Regions from separate parts of the Homo sapiens genome. Here all the other regions are linked to region 5. The links are contacts of gene promoters, found by promoter capture Hi-C in blood cells and fetal thymus (Javierre and others, 2016). All regions are on one chromosome and are shown on one strand. Each heading gives the region's core, a stretch centred on a gene start or on the middle of the fragment in contact. The rest is flanking DNA. Distances are from core to core; before and after follow the strand shown. Region 1 overlaps FKBP3 (FKBP prolyl isomerase 3). Region 2 overlaps PRPF39 (pre-mRNA processing factor 39). Region 3 overlaps DORIP1 (dopamine receptor interacting protein 1). Region 4 overlaps TOGARAM1 (TOG array regulator of axonemal microtubules 1). Region 5 holds the start of FBXO33 (F-box protein 33). Region 6 overlaps TOGARAM1 (TOG array regulator of axonemal microtubules 1). Region 7 overlaps TOGARAM1 (TOG array regulator of axonemal microtubules 1).

Region 1 (2,748 bases), core at 106-2,605, 5.7 Mb before region 5:
AAAAAGATGTTTAAAATGCATTGATTTGTTGAATGTGTTGGAGCTTTTCCACCTGTAATTTTTCTGAACTGTTATCATAAGTGGACTAGCTGTCAAATCTAGCAAGGCTAATCTGCAGTATGGCAGAATGTTTCAGTATTTTCAAAGGGTCTGGATTTTGTAGCTTAAATTGAGACAACAAATTCTTAAGTCCACTGAAGTTATAAATTCATTAGGTCAGTGGTATTACCGTATTACTTTAGCATATGGTGTATATTAAATGTATTTTGTTGTTGTTTTATTATATATGTTAAATGTTATATTGAAAATAAGTTTCCATTTCACTAATGAATTTAAAGTCTGGTTTAGATTTAGGCTGAGCTTTACAAAAATACATTTTAAGACATTCTCCCACATTTGTTTACTATGAAATGAATATCTTCCACAGGAAAGAAATCTTTATTTAGGAGTTATTTGAATAGTGCTTATATCTCTGGGTATGAGTTGGCCTTTCTAAGGTCATGGTTCTCATTTCAGAATTTATATTGTAAGCTGGTTTGAGGGTAATCATTTATTGTTTAAAAATAAATTATGAGCAAAATTCTTTCTTTGCTCTTCGTTTCCTTAGACCATTTATTCACAATTGTGTTATACAACCTATATTTATTATGCAGATGTTCATTTAATTGAGAGGCTGAAAATCTTGATGTTGCTTCTTGGTTTTAGCCTGTCCTGGGTATGATGTTACAACATTTTCCTTACAGCGTTTTAAGGGTACTGAAAGTATAAGTAAAGTGTCTGAGCAAGTAAAAAATGTGAAGCTTAATGAAGATAAACCCAAAGAAACCAAGTCTGAAGAGACCCTGGATGAGGTCTGTATATAATTATTTTTTTATTTTATCATGTGGAGTCTAGAAATTGTATTTATTTCTTTATTATTTGCACTAACTTCTCATAGTGAAGGGTGGTTGAATACGACCACTTTCAATGAGCCAAACACTTAATGTAGTGGGCCATTTCCCTTAGGTGTACTGGGACAGAAATAATCCTAAGAACTAGTGCTTTACAGTTATTAGCCTATTCTGTGAAACACTTCTGATATTGTATTTAATATCGCCTCCACATCTGTCCAGACCTTCTGAGCTTTCAAAGCTATTTTAAGGCCTTGATTCTATAGCCAAGTTGGACTAAGTGAAATACATTTTCTTTTGATTATTTTTAGCTTTTTCTAATGTACATGGTGTCCCTGGCAATAGAAATAATCCAGGCTTGGCTGCAGGATGTGGGTTCATCTGTCTCAGTTTTCCCAACTCAGGTTTTATACTTTGGTACAAAGGTTTGAAGAACCAGATTAATTCATTCCTGCAAATTGACAGCCTTAGTAGAGCTAAGATCAGCTACTAAGAACTGACTTAGCAGAGCTGAATTGATTATAATCTTGTCATTTCTGATAATACCTTACTATCTAAGCTCACTCATTGCCAGCAGTCTTAGTATCAGTGATAATAATCTATTTTTAGTTCTTGTAAAGAGGTGAGGCTATTGATGACAGTGTAGCTTTTGGGTATTTGTGGAAAGTGTAAGTTCAGTTATACAATTATAGATGTTTATTTGATTAAAGCTAGTTAATTTTGCATGATCTTTTCCTATTGGCTAAAAAGCACAAATTAATGTTTATAGGTATATGTGCACACAAAGCAGTTTTAAAGTTTATCACAATTAATATTTAATAAATGTTATATCTATTGAGTAGCTACTAAGGTAAATGGAGCAATTATTATTGAAGGGTTTCAGAAGCAACTGGCAACATAGTTCACCCTCCAGGAAATTAGAATGAGGATGGTTTTAGGAGACAGATAATATTTCATTAAGGAGTTAAGAAAATAAAAGGTAAATTCATAAGAGCTAGAGACAATCTAGAGCAAGCTTATGAGGGTCCTAAACTCTATCATTTTATTTAAAACCTCTTCGTTTAACTGGCCAGCTTGAGCCCATTTATGTACTGTGACTGTTTTCCTAGCGTCCTACATTCAAAAGCCTCTTGTCCATTTCCTTGCTAACCCTCGTTGTCTACTCTCTGTCTTCATGCTTTGGGACTGGAGAGCAGGCATTATAAACATATAATCATAAAACCTTTTATTGAGCCTGGTATAAATTCATGCTTAATATTAGCCAAGCATGTTTTCTAGTTTCATTGCTACTCAACAACATTTATACTATCCTTTGCCCAGTTCTCCATCACATTGCTCATTGCTCACATAAAGTATTTGACATTTTCTCACAAATTCTCAGTCCCTTCTTACTCCTTTCTCTTTTTTTGTTTTTGTTTTTGTCTTTGAGACAAAGTCTCACCCAGGCTGGAGTGCAGTGGTGCCATCTTGGTTCACAGCAACCTCCCCCTCCTGGGTTCAAGTGATTCTCCTGCCTCAGCCTCCCCAGTAGCTGGGACTCCAGGCAGGCGCCACCATGCCCAGCTGATTTTTGTATTTTTAATAGAGACGCAGTTTCTCCATGTTGGCTGGGCTGGTCTTGAACTCCTGACCTCAAGTTATCCGCCCACCTAGGCCTTCCAAAGTGTTGGGATTACAGGCGTGAGCCACTGCCCCTGGACTCCCTTCTCATTATATGCTCCTGTGTTCTGTAGTGCCAAAATGTGAATGTCTAGCCATTGCCATTCCCTTCTTCTGAGCTTAAAATTTCTCTGAATCTTTGCGTCCCTTTTTCTTTCTCATGTCTCCTTCAGGACTAATGCTCTCAAACATCTTCCTT
Region 2 (2,700 bases), core at 114-2,613, 5.7 Mb before region 5:
GGCAAATTATTCTGTACATGTTCTTTAAATCTAAAGGAAGACAATAAAAATATATGTATTTGAATCATAATTTTAGATCTCATATTGAGATTCCTACTATATACTACTCTTTCAAAGGATTTGATTTAAAAAAGAAACCAAAATATCATACCTTTTCTCCTTCTTTTCTATAGTAAAATCCTACCATATATGATAAAACACTACCATATGATAAAACAGTCTATAGACATCTTCAATTTCTTCCTACCTTTACAGTGGAATGGAGAAGGCATGGACGGGCATAAATTCAAACCTCAGTTCTGTCTGTTACTGGTTATCTGACTAGGGAAGGTTTTCTTTTCTCTAAATCTTAGTTTCCTCAATTGTAAAATAAGATGATAATACCTATTCGTGTGTCATAGAATCTATTTTACTACAAAGACATAAAAGTTACAGTAAAATTAAATACTGTAATCCATATTTAAATTCTAAATGATCACTTGTAAATAACCAACAAATATAGCATTTCCTTCCCACCTCCCAAATACTCCTCATCCACATGTGAGTACGCAAAAATCCAATGAAACTGCCCAATTAAGATTATCAATTACCTCATATATAAAATTAAATGGACACTTGTTTTGTAGTATGGTCCTCCAAGCCTCTGACTGCTGCTCTATGTCTTATTCCCCTTCTTACCTGCCCTAAATGCTACTATACCCAAGTATTCCACTCTCCATTTGGTTCTCATCTATTTTTATTAATACATACTTCTGGCCAATCTCATTCATACAGCTTGAAATAAGTATACCATGATGACTCTCAAAACTACAACACAAGTCCAAACCTTTCTCCTAATCACATTAGCATATACAACTGCCAATACTCTGCACAAAGAAATGTGGATTAGTTTTAAGCTAATCTATAAAAAGATTTTTGAAAAAAATATCATTTCACTATTTTATAAAAACATGCAATAATTTGTATACATACAAATTGTAATCAAAAATACCAGGTTGAGGAGCTAAAATATCTACACTATCACAATTTGAATATACCTTTGGAACCTCAAATATGAAATATTTTAAAATAAGTATGGCATCTTCATCTGAAAATGAATACCCTCAGTATTTCTTTCTTTATTTTCTTGTGTGAGATGGAGTCCTGCTCTGTTGCCCAGGCTAGAGTGCAATCGTTCTATCTTGGCTCACTGCAAGCTCCACCTCCCGGGTTCAAGCAATTCTCCTGCCTCAGCCTCCCAAGTAGCTGGGATTACAGGTGCGCACCACCACGCCCAGCTAATTTTTCTAATTTTAGTAGAGACGGGGTTTCACCTTGTTGGCAGCCTGGTCTCGAACTCCTGACCTCAGGTGATCCACCCGCCTCAGCCTCCCAAAGTGCTGGGATTACAGGTGTGAGCCACCGTGCCCCGCCACCCTCAGCATTTCTAATATTGATTAATGGTACTGTCAACCACTACATCTCTCAATCTCTTCCACCTAGCTTTTCATTTACATTAGATACCAGGTCCTACTGACTGTACCTTTTAAATACATGTTCATCACCTCGGGACTTTTAAGCTGGATAAACATAAAATGACCTTGCAGCCTCTAGTCTCACAACTCCCATTCCCACCTCTATACTACTATCAGAAATGTTACTAAAAAGTAAGCAAACAGGTCAGGCGCCTGCTGACGCCTGTAATCCCAGCACTTTGGGAGGCTGAGGTGGGCGGATCACCTGAGGTCAGGAGTTTGAGACCAGCCTGGCAAACACGCTGAAACCCATCTGTACCAAAAATACAAAAATTAGCTCCGTGTCGGGGCGGGCACCTGTAATCCCAGCTACTCGGGAGGCTGAGGCAGGAGAATCACTTGAACCTGGGAGGTGGAGGCTGCAGTGAGCCAAGACTGCACCACTGCAATCCAGCCTGGGCAACAGAGCGAGATTTCACCTCAAAAAAAAAAAAAAAAAAAGTATATAAATAACATTGGAATCTAATTTAAATTTTGCAAAGTCAATGGATACAGAGGCTAACGGCCCATTTCAGCACCAGGTGGAAAAAAATTAACAAAGATTGCCTTATGTTAAAAAATTAAAAATAAGGAAGTAACTCTCAAATATGTAGTATGAAAAAACAGATTTAATTACAGATGAATATTAAAACTCAGAATGGTCAACAAATGAATTAAAAACTTAAGGTAAAATTTCAAAATAACTACATACAGTACATAAATCTAAAATGACTTATTGCTACATCATGTAACAACTTCTTTAAAACAGTGACAAAATGTGCATAATATTAAGCAGTATTTTTTCAGCAGTTTTTTGTATTATAAAGCTAACATTTATTCAGTAAAGACTGGCTGACTGCCTAATATATATTGAGCTCTATTCCTAAATATTAGAGATACAAAGAATTAAGCCTCAGAAACTGACAGGCATGTTGAGGATATAAGAGACATAAATTCAAAGCAGTGTTACTGGTGCTAATATAAATGTAAATAAATGTAGGTAAAGTCATGGCACAAATAACAGACTAGGTATCTCAGTATAGGAGAACCAGAGAAAATTTCACAGAGAAGACACAAAACTGTGTGGTCTCAGGGAATATAAGTCCACTAGACAAGTGGAAAGAGGAAAAGGTATTACAGTCATAAAGATATAAAACAACACTGCCCTTTGGGAAGTTATCAGACTTAGGTGTGTCTAGAGCTCAGG
Region 3 (2,700 bases), core at 3-2,502, 5.5 Mb before region 5:
GCTAGGATTTGAACCCAATTCTGTCTATTCTGTAGTCCACACACCTACCCACTATGTGCACTGCTAGTAACTGACTCTCTGTAATAAATTCTGATTCTATTCAGAATACATAAATTTAGAGACAGATATGATTGTTTTCAACAATATCTCTTAAGGGCTAGTCAAAATCATAATATAACAGGATAAATTTTTTTTATTAGTTTTATAAAGAAACAACAACAAAAACACCTACTTGTGATCAGACAAATCCAAGTAATAGGGTACATACGCCAGATCTTCAGATTTCCAATGTTGCATATTTAAGACAACAAAAGGGGGTGCCCCATGGCAGAAAATTCGTTGGGAAAATTCTCTTAAGCCACCACACCTAAAATAGAAAACAGGCATGAACATTATTACACTTGGGACAAAGCTGGCTTTCAACACTTCAGAGTTGTCTTTATGACTTTAATTTTCTTATAATTATCTATTATAGGTGTAGGTAATGGTTAATACCTATAGTTATAGGGTAATTACTACCTTATATCACCTAATAGTTCCAGAAGTTTATAAGCTGTGTTCCTTACACTAGAAATGACACGTTTAAAACTCCAGGAAATGCTGGCTATTTCTGTATAAGCCTATGAAAGCATAACTCTGCAGAACTGATACAAACGCTTTTATATTTCACTCTATATGCTGGTTTCAAATAATGGCAGAGAGGGGAAAAATATGACTCTAATTGCTTCCTTTTGCCATTAGACTCGACTATAAGCATGAACAAATTGTTTCCTCATATTATGAGGTATTAAGTATATGGATCAGAATATAACATATTGAATTATACAGTAAAATCTTGATTAACCGGAATGCTCAGGGTACAGTATTCTGGTTAACAAACATTATTAACTAAACCAAATTAACCAGAAAACCATCTGTTTCAGTATTTGTTGCTACAATATATTCGTTCACTTTCTGGACTTAATAGGTACAATTAACAGAACATATTTTTACCTTTCCTTTTGTAATTAATCAGCAATAAGATCATCCTTCTAAATATTAATTCTCATTATACAATAATGTAGTCACAGAAAATTTTAAGAGATTGGGATGAATATGTTCTGCTTCTCTCAACTTTTACTAGGTTAAGTTTTTTAGTTGTCATTTACCTCTTTCTCCTAAATGGAGAGTGCAGAAAAAAATCCAGATAATTGAGGGTCCCAATTAGCTGGGTTCCAGTTAACCAAGGTTTTATTGTACCTACTCAGCAGTGGGGGGGGAAAAAAGAAAAGGTATTTGCTTTGTATTCATCAATCAGCTGTAGTACCATATTCTATGTAGTGATATACTCCGTAACAAAAACACTGTAAAATGTCATAGTAAACTAGGTTAATAAGATTCATAAAGTACTTCAAGGAGCACATCTGCCTAGGTTTCCTTATAAACACATACATACTGTCATTTTAAATGTCTATTGTATACTCACCCATGCTCTTCACACAGTTCAATCTTGGAACAGAATAACTCATTCACAGCCAGTCTTATCAAGTTTCCATGTGGAATTTCTTGGGGAGGACTATAATAATTATTAAATGCATGTAAGAACTGCTTCAACATTTTATATCTTAATATATTATAACAAATTTTACAGCTCAGTCCTTTATTAGCAAAACCAGTTATACCAAGTATAACCTTTATGACACATTCAGAATTTCTTGCAGATAGTATAGAAACCAGTTGAACTCAAACACTAATTATGAAATTTTCAAAGAAACATATTTTTGTATAAACAATCCTGATATATCCAGTTGCTGCTATGATAATTTAAAACATTTGTGAGAAGATTCAAAAGAGGCAATCTGGTCTCGTGGGAAGGAACTAGGACCCAGAATCAGAGGAGCAGCTGATTAGTTACCTGATTAAATGTAAGTAATAATCATTCTTGGCCTCAAGTACCTGATCCGTTAAAAAAAACTTTTTTTCTACATTACTTCAGAGGTTGCTTTAAATATAGGATTTTTTAAAAAGTAGGCAAAAACTTAAAAGTTATAGAGTATGATGAAAAATATTTTATTCAATAGTATAAAATATAGAATTATAAATATTTCATTATAGTTTCAAAATATTTACAGATGAAACTAGTTTTTAAAAAACAAGATATTAGGCTGGGTGTGGTGGCTCACGCCTGTAATCCCAGCACTTTGGGAAGCTGAGGTGGGTGAATCAGAAGTTTGAGACCAACCTGGGCAACACAGCAAGATCCTATCTCTAAAAAAAAATACAAAAATTAGCCGGGCATGGTGGTACATGCCCCTGGTGCCAGCTACTTGGGGGTGCTGAGACAGGAGGATCTCTTGAACCCAGGAAGTCAACGTTGCAGTGAGCTGTGATCACACCATTATACTTCAGCCTGGGAGATGGAGTGAGACCCTGTCTCAAAAAATAAAAAAATAAATAAAACATTAGCTGGGCATGGTGGCATATACCTGTAGTCCCAGCTACTGGAGAGGCTGAAGTAGTGAGCCATGAGGCAGGAGGATCACTTGAGCCCGGGAGTTCAAGGCTGCAGTGAGCTATGATCACTGCAACACTTCTGAGTTGTCTTTATGACTTGATAATTATTTCCATTGATTGATATTTCAAATTAGCAATGCAGGAAAATAGACAGTGTATTTCAGAGAAATGTAAGTTTAACAAATTAGGGTATGTGATATACATTTC
Region 4 (2,700 bases), core at 16-2,515, 5.5 Mb before region 5:
GTTTTCAGTTGATCTGTGTCAAAGTGGCTAATGAAAACATACACAGAAAGGGGAAAATTCTGTTTTTAATCATTTAGCAATTTGGAGCAAAATTATTGCTTTCTGGTATATAAAAAATATACACAGAGAGGGGTAAAGGAAGCAAGAATCTCTTTGTTAAAATGCTAAAGAAATTGGGAGAGCCAACCATAAAATTACACTCATCAAAAGTGTAATTAAAGCACTACAGAACACTTCCCCCCTCCCTCACCTTAATTGTACATTACTAAAGACCTATTTACCACAGTTCTTTTATTTAGTATATCACATCTACCTGTCAACAAAATTTATAAGGCACAGTGAAAGGTAAAAACAAAGTCTGAAGAGACAGAACAAGCATCAGAACCAGCATCAGATATGGCAGGAATGTTGTATTAACTTTTTTTTCCAGACACACACACCGAAAGGGGTAAAGGCATCAAGAATTCTCTTTTTTAAAATGCTAAGATATTTTATGCCAACCATAAAATTACGCTCATCAAAAGTGTAATTAAAGCACTATAGATCACTTCCCCACCTCCCACACCTTAACAGTATATTACTAAAAAACTATTTACCACAGTTCCTTTTACTTACATTATGTCTACCTATCAACAAAAAATAATAAGGCACAGTAAAAGGGAAAAACAAAGTCTGAAAAGACAGAACAAGCATCATAACTAGAATTGGATATGGCAGGAATGTTGAAGTTAACATACCAGAATTTTCTAAAACTATAATTAATATACTAAGGGCTATAATGAAAAAAGACAACATGTAAGAACAAAAGGATAATATAAGTCATGAAGCGTTACTTCTAAGAAGGAACACAAAAGAAACCTAGAAATCAAAAACACTGTAACAGAAAGAAAGAATGCCTTTAATGGGCTCATTAGTAAACTGGACATAGCTGGGGAAAGTATCTCTGAGCTTGAGGATGTGACAATAAAAACTTCCAAAACTGAAAGAAAAAAGCCTGAAAAAAAGAGAAGAGAATATACAAGAACTGTGGGAAAACTACAAAACGTGTAACATATGTATAATGGGATTACTAGGAAGAGAATATAGAAAAGAATAGAGGAAATATTTGAGGCAATAATTACTGAGAATTTCCCCCAATTAATGTCAGAAACCTAACCACAGATCTAGGAAACTCAGAGAAAAACCAGGAGAAAGGTCAGAAAAACTACACCTAGGCATATCATCTTCAAACTACAAAAAATCAAAAATAAAGAAAAATCCTGAAAGAAGATAAAGGAAAAACAAAACAAAACAGAACATTACCTATAGGGGAGCAAAGATAAGAATTACATCTAACTTCTCAGAAACCATACAAAGAAGAAGAAAGTGGATTGGAATATTTAAAGTATTGAGAGAAAAAAAAAACCCATCAATTTAGAAGTCTATACCCTGGGAAATAATCTTTCACAAGTGAAGAAAAATAAAGACATTCTCAGACAAACAGAAATTGAAAGAAGTTGTTGTTAGTAAGACCTGCCTTGTAAGAAACATTGAAGTTTTTCAGAGAAAAGGAAAATTATATAGGTCAAAAACCTGGAGAGAGATATATATATATGTATATATAGAGAGAGAGAGAGAGAGAAAGTACACTGGAGGAGAATAAGTAAAGGTTAAAAAAAAAACTTATTTTTCATATTTTTAACAGATCTAACAGAAAATCATTCAAAATAATAATAGCAACAATGTATTTGATTATGTATGCTTATGTGTGTGTCTGTGTGTTTATGTATAAATGAAATGAATGACAGCATTAAACAGGTGACAGGGAGGAAGAAATTACAAATATTCTGTTATTATAAGGTACTTGGGTTACCTGTGAAGCAGTATATTGTTACTGAAAGTGAACGTGGATTAGTTAGTTGTAAATGTGTATTACACACTCTAGGGAAACTACTAAAAAAAAGTAATTTAAAAAAAAAGGAGCAGCAGCATAACTGATATGCTAAGAAAGAAGAGAAAACTGAATCATGTTAAATTCTCAATTAAAACCACAAGGAGCCAAAAAACAGAAGACAAAAACAGGAACAAAGATCATGAGCAACAAATAGAAAACAACAATTATGGTAGATATTAATCCAACTATATCAATAAACTCTTTAAATGTCTAACAATTAAAAGACAGATTGTCAGAGTGGTCAAAAAACAAAACCCAAGTTCAGTAAGTTCTCACTTAATGTTACTGATAAGTTATTCAAGACTGCCACTTTAAGCACAACGATGTATAACAAAACCAATTTTTTTCCTCATCAACATTATAGCAAAATGATGTTGAACAAAATAACGTTATTTGAGGACTTACTGTATGTCATTTCACTGAAAGTCACGGTTTCCAAGAGCCTATCAAGGAACTTAAATGAGTAATTACTATATAGGCTGTCTACAAGAAACCCATTTTAAATATAAAGATAGATATAAATTAAAAGTAAAGAGATGGAGAAAGGTACACCATGCTAACATTAATCAAAAGAAATCAAGAGTAGCTATATTAATTTCAGACACAGCAGACTTCAGAGCAAGAAAAGTTATCAGGGATAAAGAGGGGCCTCACATAATAGCAACAGGATTAATATTCCAAGAAAACAAAACAATTCTTAATGTGTGCCCAACAACAGTGTCAAATTAAATGAGGCAAAGACTGATAGAATTACAAGAAAAAATACA
Region 5 (2,942 bases), core at 304-2,803:
GAAAAAGTTTCCGTTTCTCAAAAAGTTATACATAGAACTACCCTACGACCCATCACTTTCATTCCTAGGTATCTACCCAAGACAAATTAAAACATACGTCCACATAAAGACTTGCACATGAATGTTCACAGCATTATTCATAACTCGAAACGACCTAAATGTCTGTAAACTGGTAAATGGGTAGTGTTTCATCCTGCCGAACCCACGACTGGGGTCGCCCTCTAAGAGTTCATTAAAATTAATAAGGTATAATTACCTAAAACTCTTGTAAACAGGGGCTCGAATAAGTAACCTATCACAATTGATAAACCACACCATGTTGTTGGCAACCTGATATGTGCAAGGCATTAAACGGAGAGCTTTGCCCTCAAAGGGTTAAGAACATCTAGAATGGGGGTCTCCTCTTTCGTCTTGGGAGCCCCCTCCGTCTGTCTCTGTAGTGGGGAGCTTCTTCCTTCAGCCTTCTTCCTTCTTTCTTGCCTATTAAATTCTCCGCTCCTTAAAACCAAAAAAAAAAAAAAAAGTCCAAAAAGTCTTGGTGTTTACCACAAAAGAACGATGCTATTCCAACATCACAGCCTCCCTAAAGCAACTCTCAATTATTACATAAAGAGGCAGCCTCCCTAAAGCAACCCTCGATTATTACATAAAGTCACTTAATCTTTTCTGACTTCACCACTCTTTGCAACCAGAGTTTACTTTGCAGTAGGCTGTGGTGAAGTTAGGGACATGGTTTGGAAAATCTAAGTTAGGGATACCAGGCAAAAAAAGAAGAAGAAGAAAGAAAAAAAATCAAAGCTCTGTCATTACTGTGAACTTTTCAACGAGAGCCTTAAATCTCAGCACAGGGAAAAGAGACCCTTCCTCAAGCCCTGGAGAAGAGGCTGGTCACAACCTGCGGATCTCAGATCCCTTTGCCAATTTTTTTCTCTCCCTCTGAATCCAAAGGGTGACGCTGTCCTCACTGCTTCCCCACACACCAGCGAGTGCGCGGAAGTCCACCTGCGTGGTTGGACCGAGGGGGCAGGTCCATTCGCGGCCTCCGCCACGCCCCACACCGCCCCTCCCGGCACAGCCCGCCGGGGTTAGCCCGCCCGTCCGCCAGCTCCCTCTCAGCGGCGCAATCTCAGGAATTCTTAACCCTACTCTGGGCAGGTGGGATGGCTGAGAAAGACCCTGCATGCCGCCACTTTGGCTCAGGGTCCTCAGCCCAAACTGAGAAACGTTTTACAAAGAAGCGTGACGACCTTTCGCACTAAACCAGAGTACCGCCACCTCCATCGACCGAGCGCCAAAATTAACCGACTTACAGATGTGACTGGGCGCAGCGGCCACCGTAAGGCGTAAGGGGTGCCAAGTGCCGGTTCCAGTCCCGCCCAGCCCCGCCCCGCCCCGCCCCGCCCAGCCCCGCCCCGCCCCGCGGCCTGCGTGCGTCAGAGATCACGTGCCGCGCCTCCCGTCCCTACAGGCAATCGGGCGCTCCCCTCTTCCGGAAGTCGCGCCGGTGCGCGCCGGACTCCTCCCACCAGCGGCGACGTCAAACTCAGCTCCTACCACTTCTCTGTCTCTGCCGACCGGCGCAGGGAGGGCTGCCTTTTCCTTACAGTACGCCTTGAGGCTTCCGGGCCGCTGAAGTTTACGAGCGAGGGCAGTGCAGTTACTCAGTGTGCCGGCCTCGGACGCACGTGAGTAGAGTTTGAGAAGACAGAGGCTGGCTCCCGGCAGGCCACGCCCGCAGAGGCCTTTCCCCCTCTCCACAACTTGTGTTCTACTTGGTTCCGCCGAGACCCACGACGGTTCCGCCCCCTTCTTCCTAGTCATTGATGTTGTTGTTCTTGTCAGTGCCGCAGCCCCGACCGCCGGGAGCTCGAACCCGAGCCGGGGCCGCCCGGGTGGCGCGGTGGCGGCGGCTGCGGCTGCAGCAGCTGCGACGGCTGCGGGGGCTGCTCCGGGTACTGCGGGGGCGGCCGGGAGCCGGCAGCCGGCGGCGGGGCCGGATGGCTCTGTGCGGGCAGGCGGCGGGCGCTGCGTCGCTGCCCAGCGAGCTGATCGTGCACATCTTCTCTTTTCTGCCGGCGCCCGACCGGCTGCGGGCCTCGGCCTCCTGCTCGCACTGGCGTGAGTGCCTCTTCTATCCGGCCCTGTGGCCCCAGCTCCGCATCTGCCTCCGCGTCTCGCCCGCGGAGCAGCCTCGGCTGGAATTCCTCATGCGCAAGTGCGGCTGGTTCGTGCGAGAGCTGCGTGTTGAATTCGCCGCCGAGAACTATCTGAGCGGCGGTGGCCCAGGGGACGGAGGTGGCGCGGACACCGGGACTGGAGGGGAGGAAGTCGAGGCCCTGCAGCTCTCAGCTCGTTGGCTGGAAGTGCTGCGCACCTACTTGGAGCTGGTGCTTTGCGTGCTGGTCAGCATCCGGAACAACAGGTAGGCTTGCCCTGAGCCCCGCCCCGCCCGGTAACGGGGGGTCGCTCCGTCCCCGCACCCCGACACAGATTCTGTGCATAATACGTGCCCGGCCAACTTCAGTGTTGCCTTCCTCAGTGACGGAGAGTGTTGGTTCTAACTAGGCGGTTTCCTTGAGCGGAAAGGCATAACGGGACTCATCACGATACTTTATAAACAGTGGTGGACGGGGTGTTTAACAGACACCACTTCTGGCGCCTTCCAGGCACTCATTCATCCTCTTGGTGGCCGTGGGATGGAGCTGACAGGCGCTGTCACTTTTCATTTTATATATGGGAGCGTTAAGACTGGGAGGGTGAGGCCTGTGGGTGAGCCTTGGAAGAAACAAAACATACACATAACACGATTTTCTGACTCTGAATCTGTTAGAAATAGTTCATGGTGAGGGAAGGAGTAGGTACTCATAGGACGCTGCCTAAAAGAAATTTTGTAACAGCCATTTTCTTACCAGAAATAGTTTCGGCTAACTGAACAAGGCCCG
Region 6 (2,700 bases), core at 46-2,545, 5.6 Mb before region 5:
TCCTTGAACCCAGAGGCAGAGGTTGCAGTGAGCTAAGATCATGCCACTGCACTCCAGCCTGAGCGACAGAGCATGACTCTGTTTCAAAATAATAATAATAATAATAATAATATGCTGTATTTCGTAACTACTCTTCTTAAAGCTTAAAATCTATGTAGAATATATGAACACAGTCCATAAACACTGAACACTGTTGTTCCTATGCAACATTAGGAGTGTGAGAATAAACATTTTGATGAGAACTATTTAAAACTTTTCCTGTACTGGAAAGACTCACAGATGCAATCTGCTTCATTTTAGTCAGATTATTTTTTTTTGCATGGTTATATTAATAAGTTCTAATATGAACTAAGCTGAAACCTTCAGGCTCAACGGGCAGAAAAAAATGCTCTAAAATGTCTATTGCTACATTATTTTTGTAATATTATTCCTTCACAAGTGAGTCCTTATCCCAAGGTCATCAGAGAGAAATGACATAAATTACAATAGAAAAATTTTACTTTATTAAATTAAACATATTTTTAAATTAATATGTAAATAGATTACTTTTCATATTTTATTTCACTTGGTATTCTCTCAGTCACTCATTTATCAGACATTACTGAATTCCCATTATCTACCAGGACAAATAAGACATGGCATGGCTGGGCGCATTGGCTCTCGCCTGTAATCCCAGCACTTTGGGAGGCCGAGTCAGGCGGATCACCTGAGGTCAGGAGTTCAAGACAAGCCTGGCCAACATGGTGAAACCCCGTCTCTACTAAAAAATACAAAAAATTAGTTGGGCGTGGTGGTGGGCACCTGTAATCCCAGCTACTCGAGAGGCTGAGGCAGGAGAATCGCTTGAACCCAAGAGGTGGAGGTTGTAGTGAGCCGAGATCACACCACTGCACTCTAGCCTAGTGGCACAGCAAGACTCTGTCTCAAAAGAAAAAAAAAAAAAAAAAAAAGACATTGCACTTACCCTCAAGGAGCTCCCTAAAAATGTTCTGCAGTGTGGTAATAGCTCTAATAGTGGGACATGCAAGGTAAATAAAGCAGGGACTAAACATGGTAAACATTATTATCCTCATTTTATAAAGTGAGAATTCTAGTTAGAGAAATGAAGAGGCATGTGTAAGTTACACAGTTGCTAACTGTTAGAGCTGCAATTCAAACCCATGTCTTGTTAACTCCAATAAGCCAAACTATATTCTACCAAACATCAAGCTTCTGTGCAATAAACATTTACTTCCAAGGCTTGACAATATGTATGTCTACTTAGTATTGTAATTGTTGAAATGCTATTGCAGATATAGTCCAATAGTCCAAATGATTAACAGAGAAATAATCAAATAAATAATTATTCCTATCCTTTACCTGGATGTAAAAACAAGCTTTGCTTATAAAGCTGTTTATAAAACAAACTTTTCCCACATACCTTTTGCTGTAAGTTTCTAACAGAGTCCTTAATATATGGCAAATCTTTAGATGGGACATACTTTTCAAGCATTTTTTCAAAGTTAGGATGACACATCATGAAGAACAGCATCTTTCGACCATAATACCTGTGAGTATTTGAAAAACAGGTATATTACTTTTTAGACATTAATAAGCTCAGTTGCTGACCTTAGATGCATTGTTTCAATAGAAAAAAAACACCTATCAAACATCAAGATTACCATCCCTATATTAAATAACCATGAAAATATAGATATCCTAACTGTATAGGATACCCTAGAGGGTACAGATGGTCTCCGACTTACAACGGTTTGACTTATAATTTTTCAACTTTATAATAGTGTGAAAGAGATATGATTCTGTGGAAACCATACTTTGAATTTTGACTTTTTCCATGGCTAGTCATATGCAGTATGACACTCTTTTAAGATGCTGGGCAGCAGCAGCGAGCCACAGCTCCCACTCAGCCATATGATCACCATACTCTACAATGTACTGTGTTGCCAGATGATTCTGTCTAAGCGTAGGCTAATGTAAGTGTTCTCAGCATGTTTAAGGTAAGGCTTGGCTACATTATGATGTTTGGTAGGTTAGGTGTTTAAATGCACTTTTGGCTTATGATAATTCCTATTCATGATGGGTTTATTGGGATATAACCTCATTGTAAGTTAAGAAGCATCTGTGGCCAGGTACAGTGGCTCACGCCTGTAATCCCAGCACTTTGGGAGGCCAAGGCAGGTGGATCACAAGGTCAGGAGTTCGAGATCAGCCTGGCCAACATGATGAAACCCCGTCTCTCCTAAAAAAATACAAAAATTAGCCAGATGTGTTGGCGTGCTCAGGTAATCCCAGTTATTCAGGAGACTGAGGCAGGAAAATCATTTGAATCCAGGAGGTGGAGGTTGCAGTGAGCCGAGATCACACCATTGCACTCCAGCCTGGGCAACAGAGTGAGACTGCGTCTCAAAAAAAAAAAAAAAAAAAAAAAAGCATCTGTTGGGATGCTCCCATAATCCCCCTTTAAAGTCACTGTCTTCAAATCCTTCTGCCATGTGCCAGATGGAGAGACAAAAGCTTTGATTCTATTTTTCAGGCACCCCAAGGTCCATATCAATGCTGGCATTTGGGAGAATTGTGAAGTTTTCCTCCATCCTGGGCTCCTTGCCCATTGACCATTTGCTGTCCACCTAAGGGCCAGATGTTCTGGCCTGAGTCAACCCTCCCTAGGTCCTGTATTTCTCATTCTCTGTTTTTCCCTAG
Region 7 (2,700 bases), core at 136-2,635, 5.6 Mb before region 5:
CTGTTAAATCCAATTAAACCTATTTTTCTTCTCCTCTTGGATATGTCTTTATCAGCAGCATGAAAACGGACTAATACAAAAATGAAAACCACAGTTGCACATCTACAAGGAAGACAATTCTTCCAAACAATGAGCTTCTAAGAAAATTGAAAGAAGAGATCACATCCCTGGCTGATACTTTGATTTCAGCCTAGTGGTATTTTGAGCAAAGAGCTGAGTTAACTTATATCTGATCTCTTGACCCAGAAAACTGAGAGTTAATCAATTTGTGTGGTTTGAATCCACTGAGTTTGTGGCAATTTGTTACATAACAATATAAAATAAATACTCTCATTAATATTCTTTGCTTTGAAATATACTTTGATATTAATATGGCCATGTAATCTATCTTTTGATTAGTGTTAGCATGGTATACATCTTTTTGAATCTCTACTTTTAACTTATTTGTATCTATATATTTAAACAGAATTTCTTATAGGTAGCATATAGTTGGGTCTTGCTTTTTAATCTAATCTCACTAGGGTGTTTAGTTCATCTACATTTAATGTGATTAGATGATTGGGTTTAAGTCTATCATCTTGCTGTTTGTTTTCTATTTGTCCCATCTTTTCTTTATAATTATTTTTATAGTTATATTTTATCTCCTTTGTTGCCTTGGTAAAGCAATACTGCCATGTCTTCCCTTTGGGCCTTTGTATCAAACTGTCAGACATTTTGCTTCTTTTAAAACTTTTTTTTTTTTTTTTTTTTTTTTTTTAGAGACAAGGTCTTGTTCTGTTGCTCAGGCTGCAGTGTAGTGGCACAATCACAGCTCACTGCAGCCTCGAACCCCTGGATTCAGGCAATCCTTCTGCCTCAGCCTCCTGATTAGCTGGGACTACAGAAACACATCACTGCATCCAGATTTTAAATTTTTTTTCTTTCTTTTTTTTTTTTTTTCTAGAGATGAGGTCTTGCTATATTGCAAAGGCTGGTCTTTAACTTCTGGGCTCAAGCAATCTTCCTGGCTTGGCCTCATAAAGTGCTGGGATTACAAGTGTGAGCCACCATGCCTGGCCCACTACTTTTATTTTTGAAAGATATTTTCATTGGATATAGAATTCTAGATTGACAGTTTGTTTTTCCTTTCAGTACTTTAAAGATCTCACTGAACTGTTTTTTGGTTTGCAGTGTATTTGATGAGTAGTCTGATCTTTGTTCTATATGTAATGTCTTGCCCCTAGCTATTTTTAAGATTTTCTCCATCCCTAATTTTAGGCCTTTTGATTATATCTCCTTTGAAATATTTCTTTTCATGTTTCTTGTGTTTGGTGTTCACTGAACTTCTTAGATCTTTGGGTTTATAGTTTTCATCCAATTTGAACAAATTTTGTCCATTTTTTTCTACAAATATTCTTTTCTGTCTCCTTCTCTGTCTGGTAACTCCAATTACACATAACTTGAAGTTGTCCCACAATTGACAGATTTTTTGGACTTTTTTTTCAGTCTTGTTTCTCTCATTGTTTCATTTTGATTTTTTTTTTTTACTTGAGACAGAGTCTCACCCTGTTGCCCAGGCTGGGTGCAGTGGTACGATCTCAGCTCACTGCAACCTCCGCCTCCCGGGTTTAAGCGATTCTCCTGCCCCAGTCGCCCCAGTAGCTGGGACTACAGGTGTGCATCACCACACCCAGCTAATTTTTGTATTTTTGGTAGACACAGGATTTTGCCTTATTGGTCAGGCTTCATTGTTTCATTTTGAATAGTTTCAATGGTTACGTCTTCAACTTCACTAATCTTTTCTTCTGGAATGTCTAACCTATTAATCTCATCCAGTGTATTTCCTATCTCAGACATTATAGCTTTCATCTGTAGATATTAGTTTTGGGTTTCTTATATATATTATATCTCTTTACTTGCTCAACCTTTCCTCCAGCCTCTTTAATGCATGCAGTAGTTACAGTTACAATGTCTTTGTCTACTAATTCTATCACCTGTGTCATTTTTGCATTGGTTTCACTTGGCTTTTTTTCTTCTCACTATTGGTTATATTTTCCTGCTTCTCTGCATGCCTGGTAATTTCACTTTAGCTATTTTTGTATTCCTATAAATATTCTTCAGCTTTGTTCTGGGATATAGTTATTTGAAAATGTATTTCAAATAAGGATCAAATGTTTGATCATCTTAGGCCTTGCTTTTAAACTTCATTGGGTAGGAACCAAACTAACATTCAGTCTATGGTTTATTTTACTACACTATGGAGCAAAACTCTGAGTATTCTACCCAATGCCCTGTGAATTATGAACTTTTCCACTCTGCTGGTGGGAACAGGAAGTATTATTAACATTGTATATGCTCCTGACATTGTTCCTTGTAACTTTTTTGAGTGGTTCTTGTTCTGGCCTCAGGAAATGTATTTACATGCATGCCCCGACCAGTTGTCTGCTAAACATTTGAGTAAAATCCTCTTATGATCTCTGGAGCTCTCTGTGGAGCTCTATCTGGCATTCTGTCCTGCAAAGTCTAGTCACCATGGCCTCCTCAAACTCTCAGCACCATGTCCATCTCTGATGCTATCTGCCTGTTTTCCCTCCCTTTAGCTGCAACCTGGAAACTCTCTCCAGAAAGCAAGCTGGGTAATTGTAGGGCTCACCTGGTTTGTTTCCTGTCTCTCAGAGATCAACATCTTTCCATAGCCTGGTGAACAGTGTCTTGAAAACT

What was found. The method cuts DNA at HindIII sites, captures the fragments that hold promoters and counts their contacts. A CHiCAGO score of 5 or more calls a contact.
Region 1: a contact is called between a fragment that was not itself captured here and the fragment with the promoter of FBXO33 in region 5, in 13 of 17 cell types (total CD4 T cells, total B cells, non-activated CD4 T cells and 10 more). The highest score is 36.3, in total CD4 T cells.
Region 2: a contact is called between a fragment that was not itself captured here and the fragment with the promoter of FBXO33 in region 5, in 10 of 17 cell types (total CD4 T cells, activated CD4 T cells, non-activated CD4 T cells and 7 more). The highest score is 18.8, in total CD4 T cells.
Region 3: a contact is called between a fragment that was not itself captured here and the fragment with the promoter of FBXO33 in region 5, in 15 of 17 cell types (total CD4 T cells, non-activated CD4 T cells, activated CD4 T cells and 12 more). The highest score is 42.4, in total CD4 T cells.
Region 4: a contact is called between a fragment that was not itself captured here and the fragment with the promoter of FBXO33 in region 5, in 12 of 17 cell types (activated CD4 T cells, non-activated CD4 T cells, naive B cells and 9 more). The highest score is 20.0, in activated CD4 T cells.
Region 6: a contact is called between a fragment that was not itself captured here and the fragment with the promoter of FBXO33 in region 5, in 9 of 17 cell types (total B cells, activated CD4 T cells, naive B cells and 6 more). The highest score is 20.0, in total B cells.
Region 7: a fragment that was not itself captured here is called in contact with the fragment with the promoter of FBXO33 in region 5 in 2 of 17 cell types (naive B cells and M2 macrophages); the score reaches 12.0 in naive B cells.

What each region holds. Positions count from the first base shown.
Region 1 is chr14:45,127,897-45,130,644 of GRCh38, reverse strand. It overlaps FKBP3 (FKBP prolyl isomerase 3), which reads left to right. Exons shown (of 7, transcript NM_002013.4): 3 at 744-851. Among named protein-coding and RNA genes, the nearest start is that of FKBP3, 5.2 kb to the left of the region's middle. The HindIII fragment of the contact is 1,105 bases long and covers 803-1,907 here.
Region 2 is chr14:45,104,781-45,107,480 of GRCh38, reverse strand. It overlaps PRPF39 (pre-mRNA processing factor 39), which reads right to left. Exons shown (of 14, transcript NM_017922.4): 6 at 1-30. Among named protein-coding and RNA genes, the nearest start is that of SNORD127, 4.7 kb to the left of the region's middle. The HindIII fragment of the contact is 6,663 bases long and covers 1-2,700 here.
Region 3 is chr14:44,902,062-44,904,761 of GRCh38, reverse strand. DORIP1 (dopamine receptor interacting protein 1) reads right to left here. Exons shown (of 5, transcript NM_001017923.2): 3 at 1,466-1,555; 4 at 233-367. The region is part of intron 1 of LOC101927418 (a long non-coding RNA gene); the gene reads left to right. Among named protein-coding and RNA genes, the nearest start is that of DORIP1, 6.1 kb to the right of the region's middle. The HindIII fragment of the contact is 5,407 bases long and covers 1-2,700 here.
Region 4 is chr14:44,972,500-44,975,199 of GRCh38, reverse strand. The region is part of intron 1 of TOGARAM1 (TOG array regulator of axonemal microtubules 1); the gene reads right to left. Among named protein-coding and RNA genes, the nearest start is that of TOGARAM1, 12 kb to the right of the region's middle. The HindIII fragment of the contact is 4,950 bases long and covers 1-2,700 here.
Region 5 is chr14:39,431,044-39,433,985 of GRCh38, reverse strand. FBXO33 (F-box protein 33) reads left to right here and starts at 1,553. Exons shown (of 4, transcript NM_203301.4): 1 at 1,553-2,422. The coding sequence starts at 1,824. It overlaps LOC105370461 (a long non-coding RNA gene), which reads right to left and starts at 1,547. Exons shown (of 8, transcript XR_007064121.1): 1 at 1,467-1,547. RefSeq lists silencers at 955-1,124, 1,865-1,994, 2,435-2,564 and an enhancer at 1,515-1,764. The HindIII fragment of the contact is 7,836 bases long and covers 1-2,942 here.
Region 6 is chr14:45,051,283-45,053,982 of GRCh38, reverse strand. It overlaps TOGARAM1 (TOG array regulator of axonemal microtubules 1), which reads right to left. Exons shown (of 20, transcript NM_001308120.2): 15 at 1,421-1,547. Among named protein-coding and RNA genes, the nearest start is that of PRPF39-DT, 31 kb to the left of the region's middle. The HindIII fragment of the contact is 167 bases long and covers 1,212-1,378 here.
Region 7 is chr14:45,034,188-45,036,887 of GRCh38, reverse strand. The region is part of intron 11 of TOGARAM1 (TOG array regulator of axonemal microtubules 1); the gene reads right to left. Among named protein-coding and RNA genes, the nearest start is that of PRPF39-DT, 48 kb to the left of the region's middle. The HindIII fragment of the contact is 6,169 bases long and covers 1-2,700 here.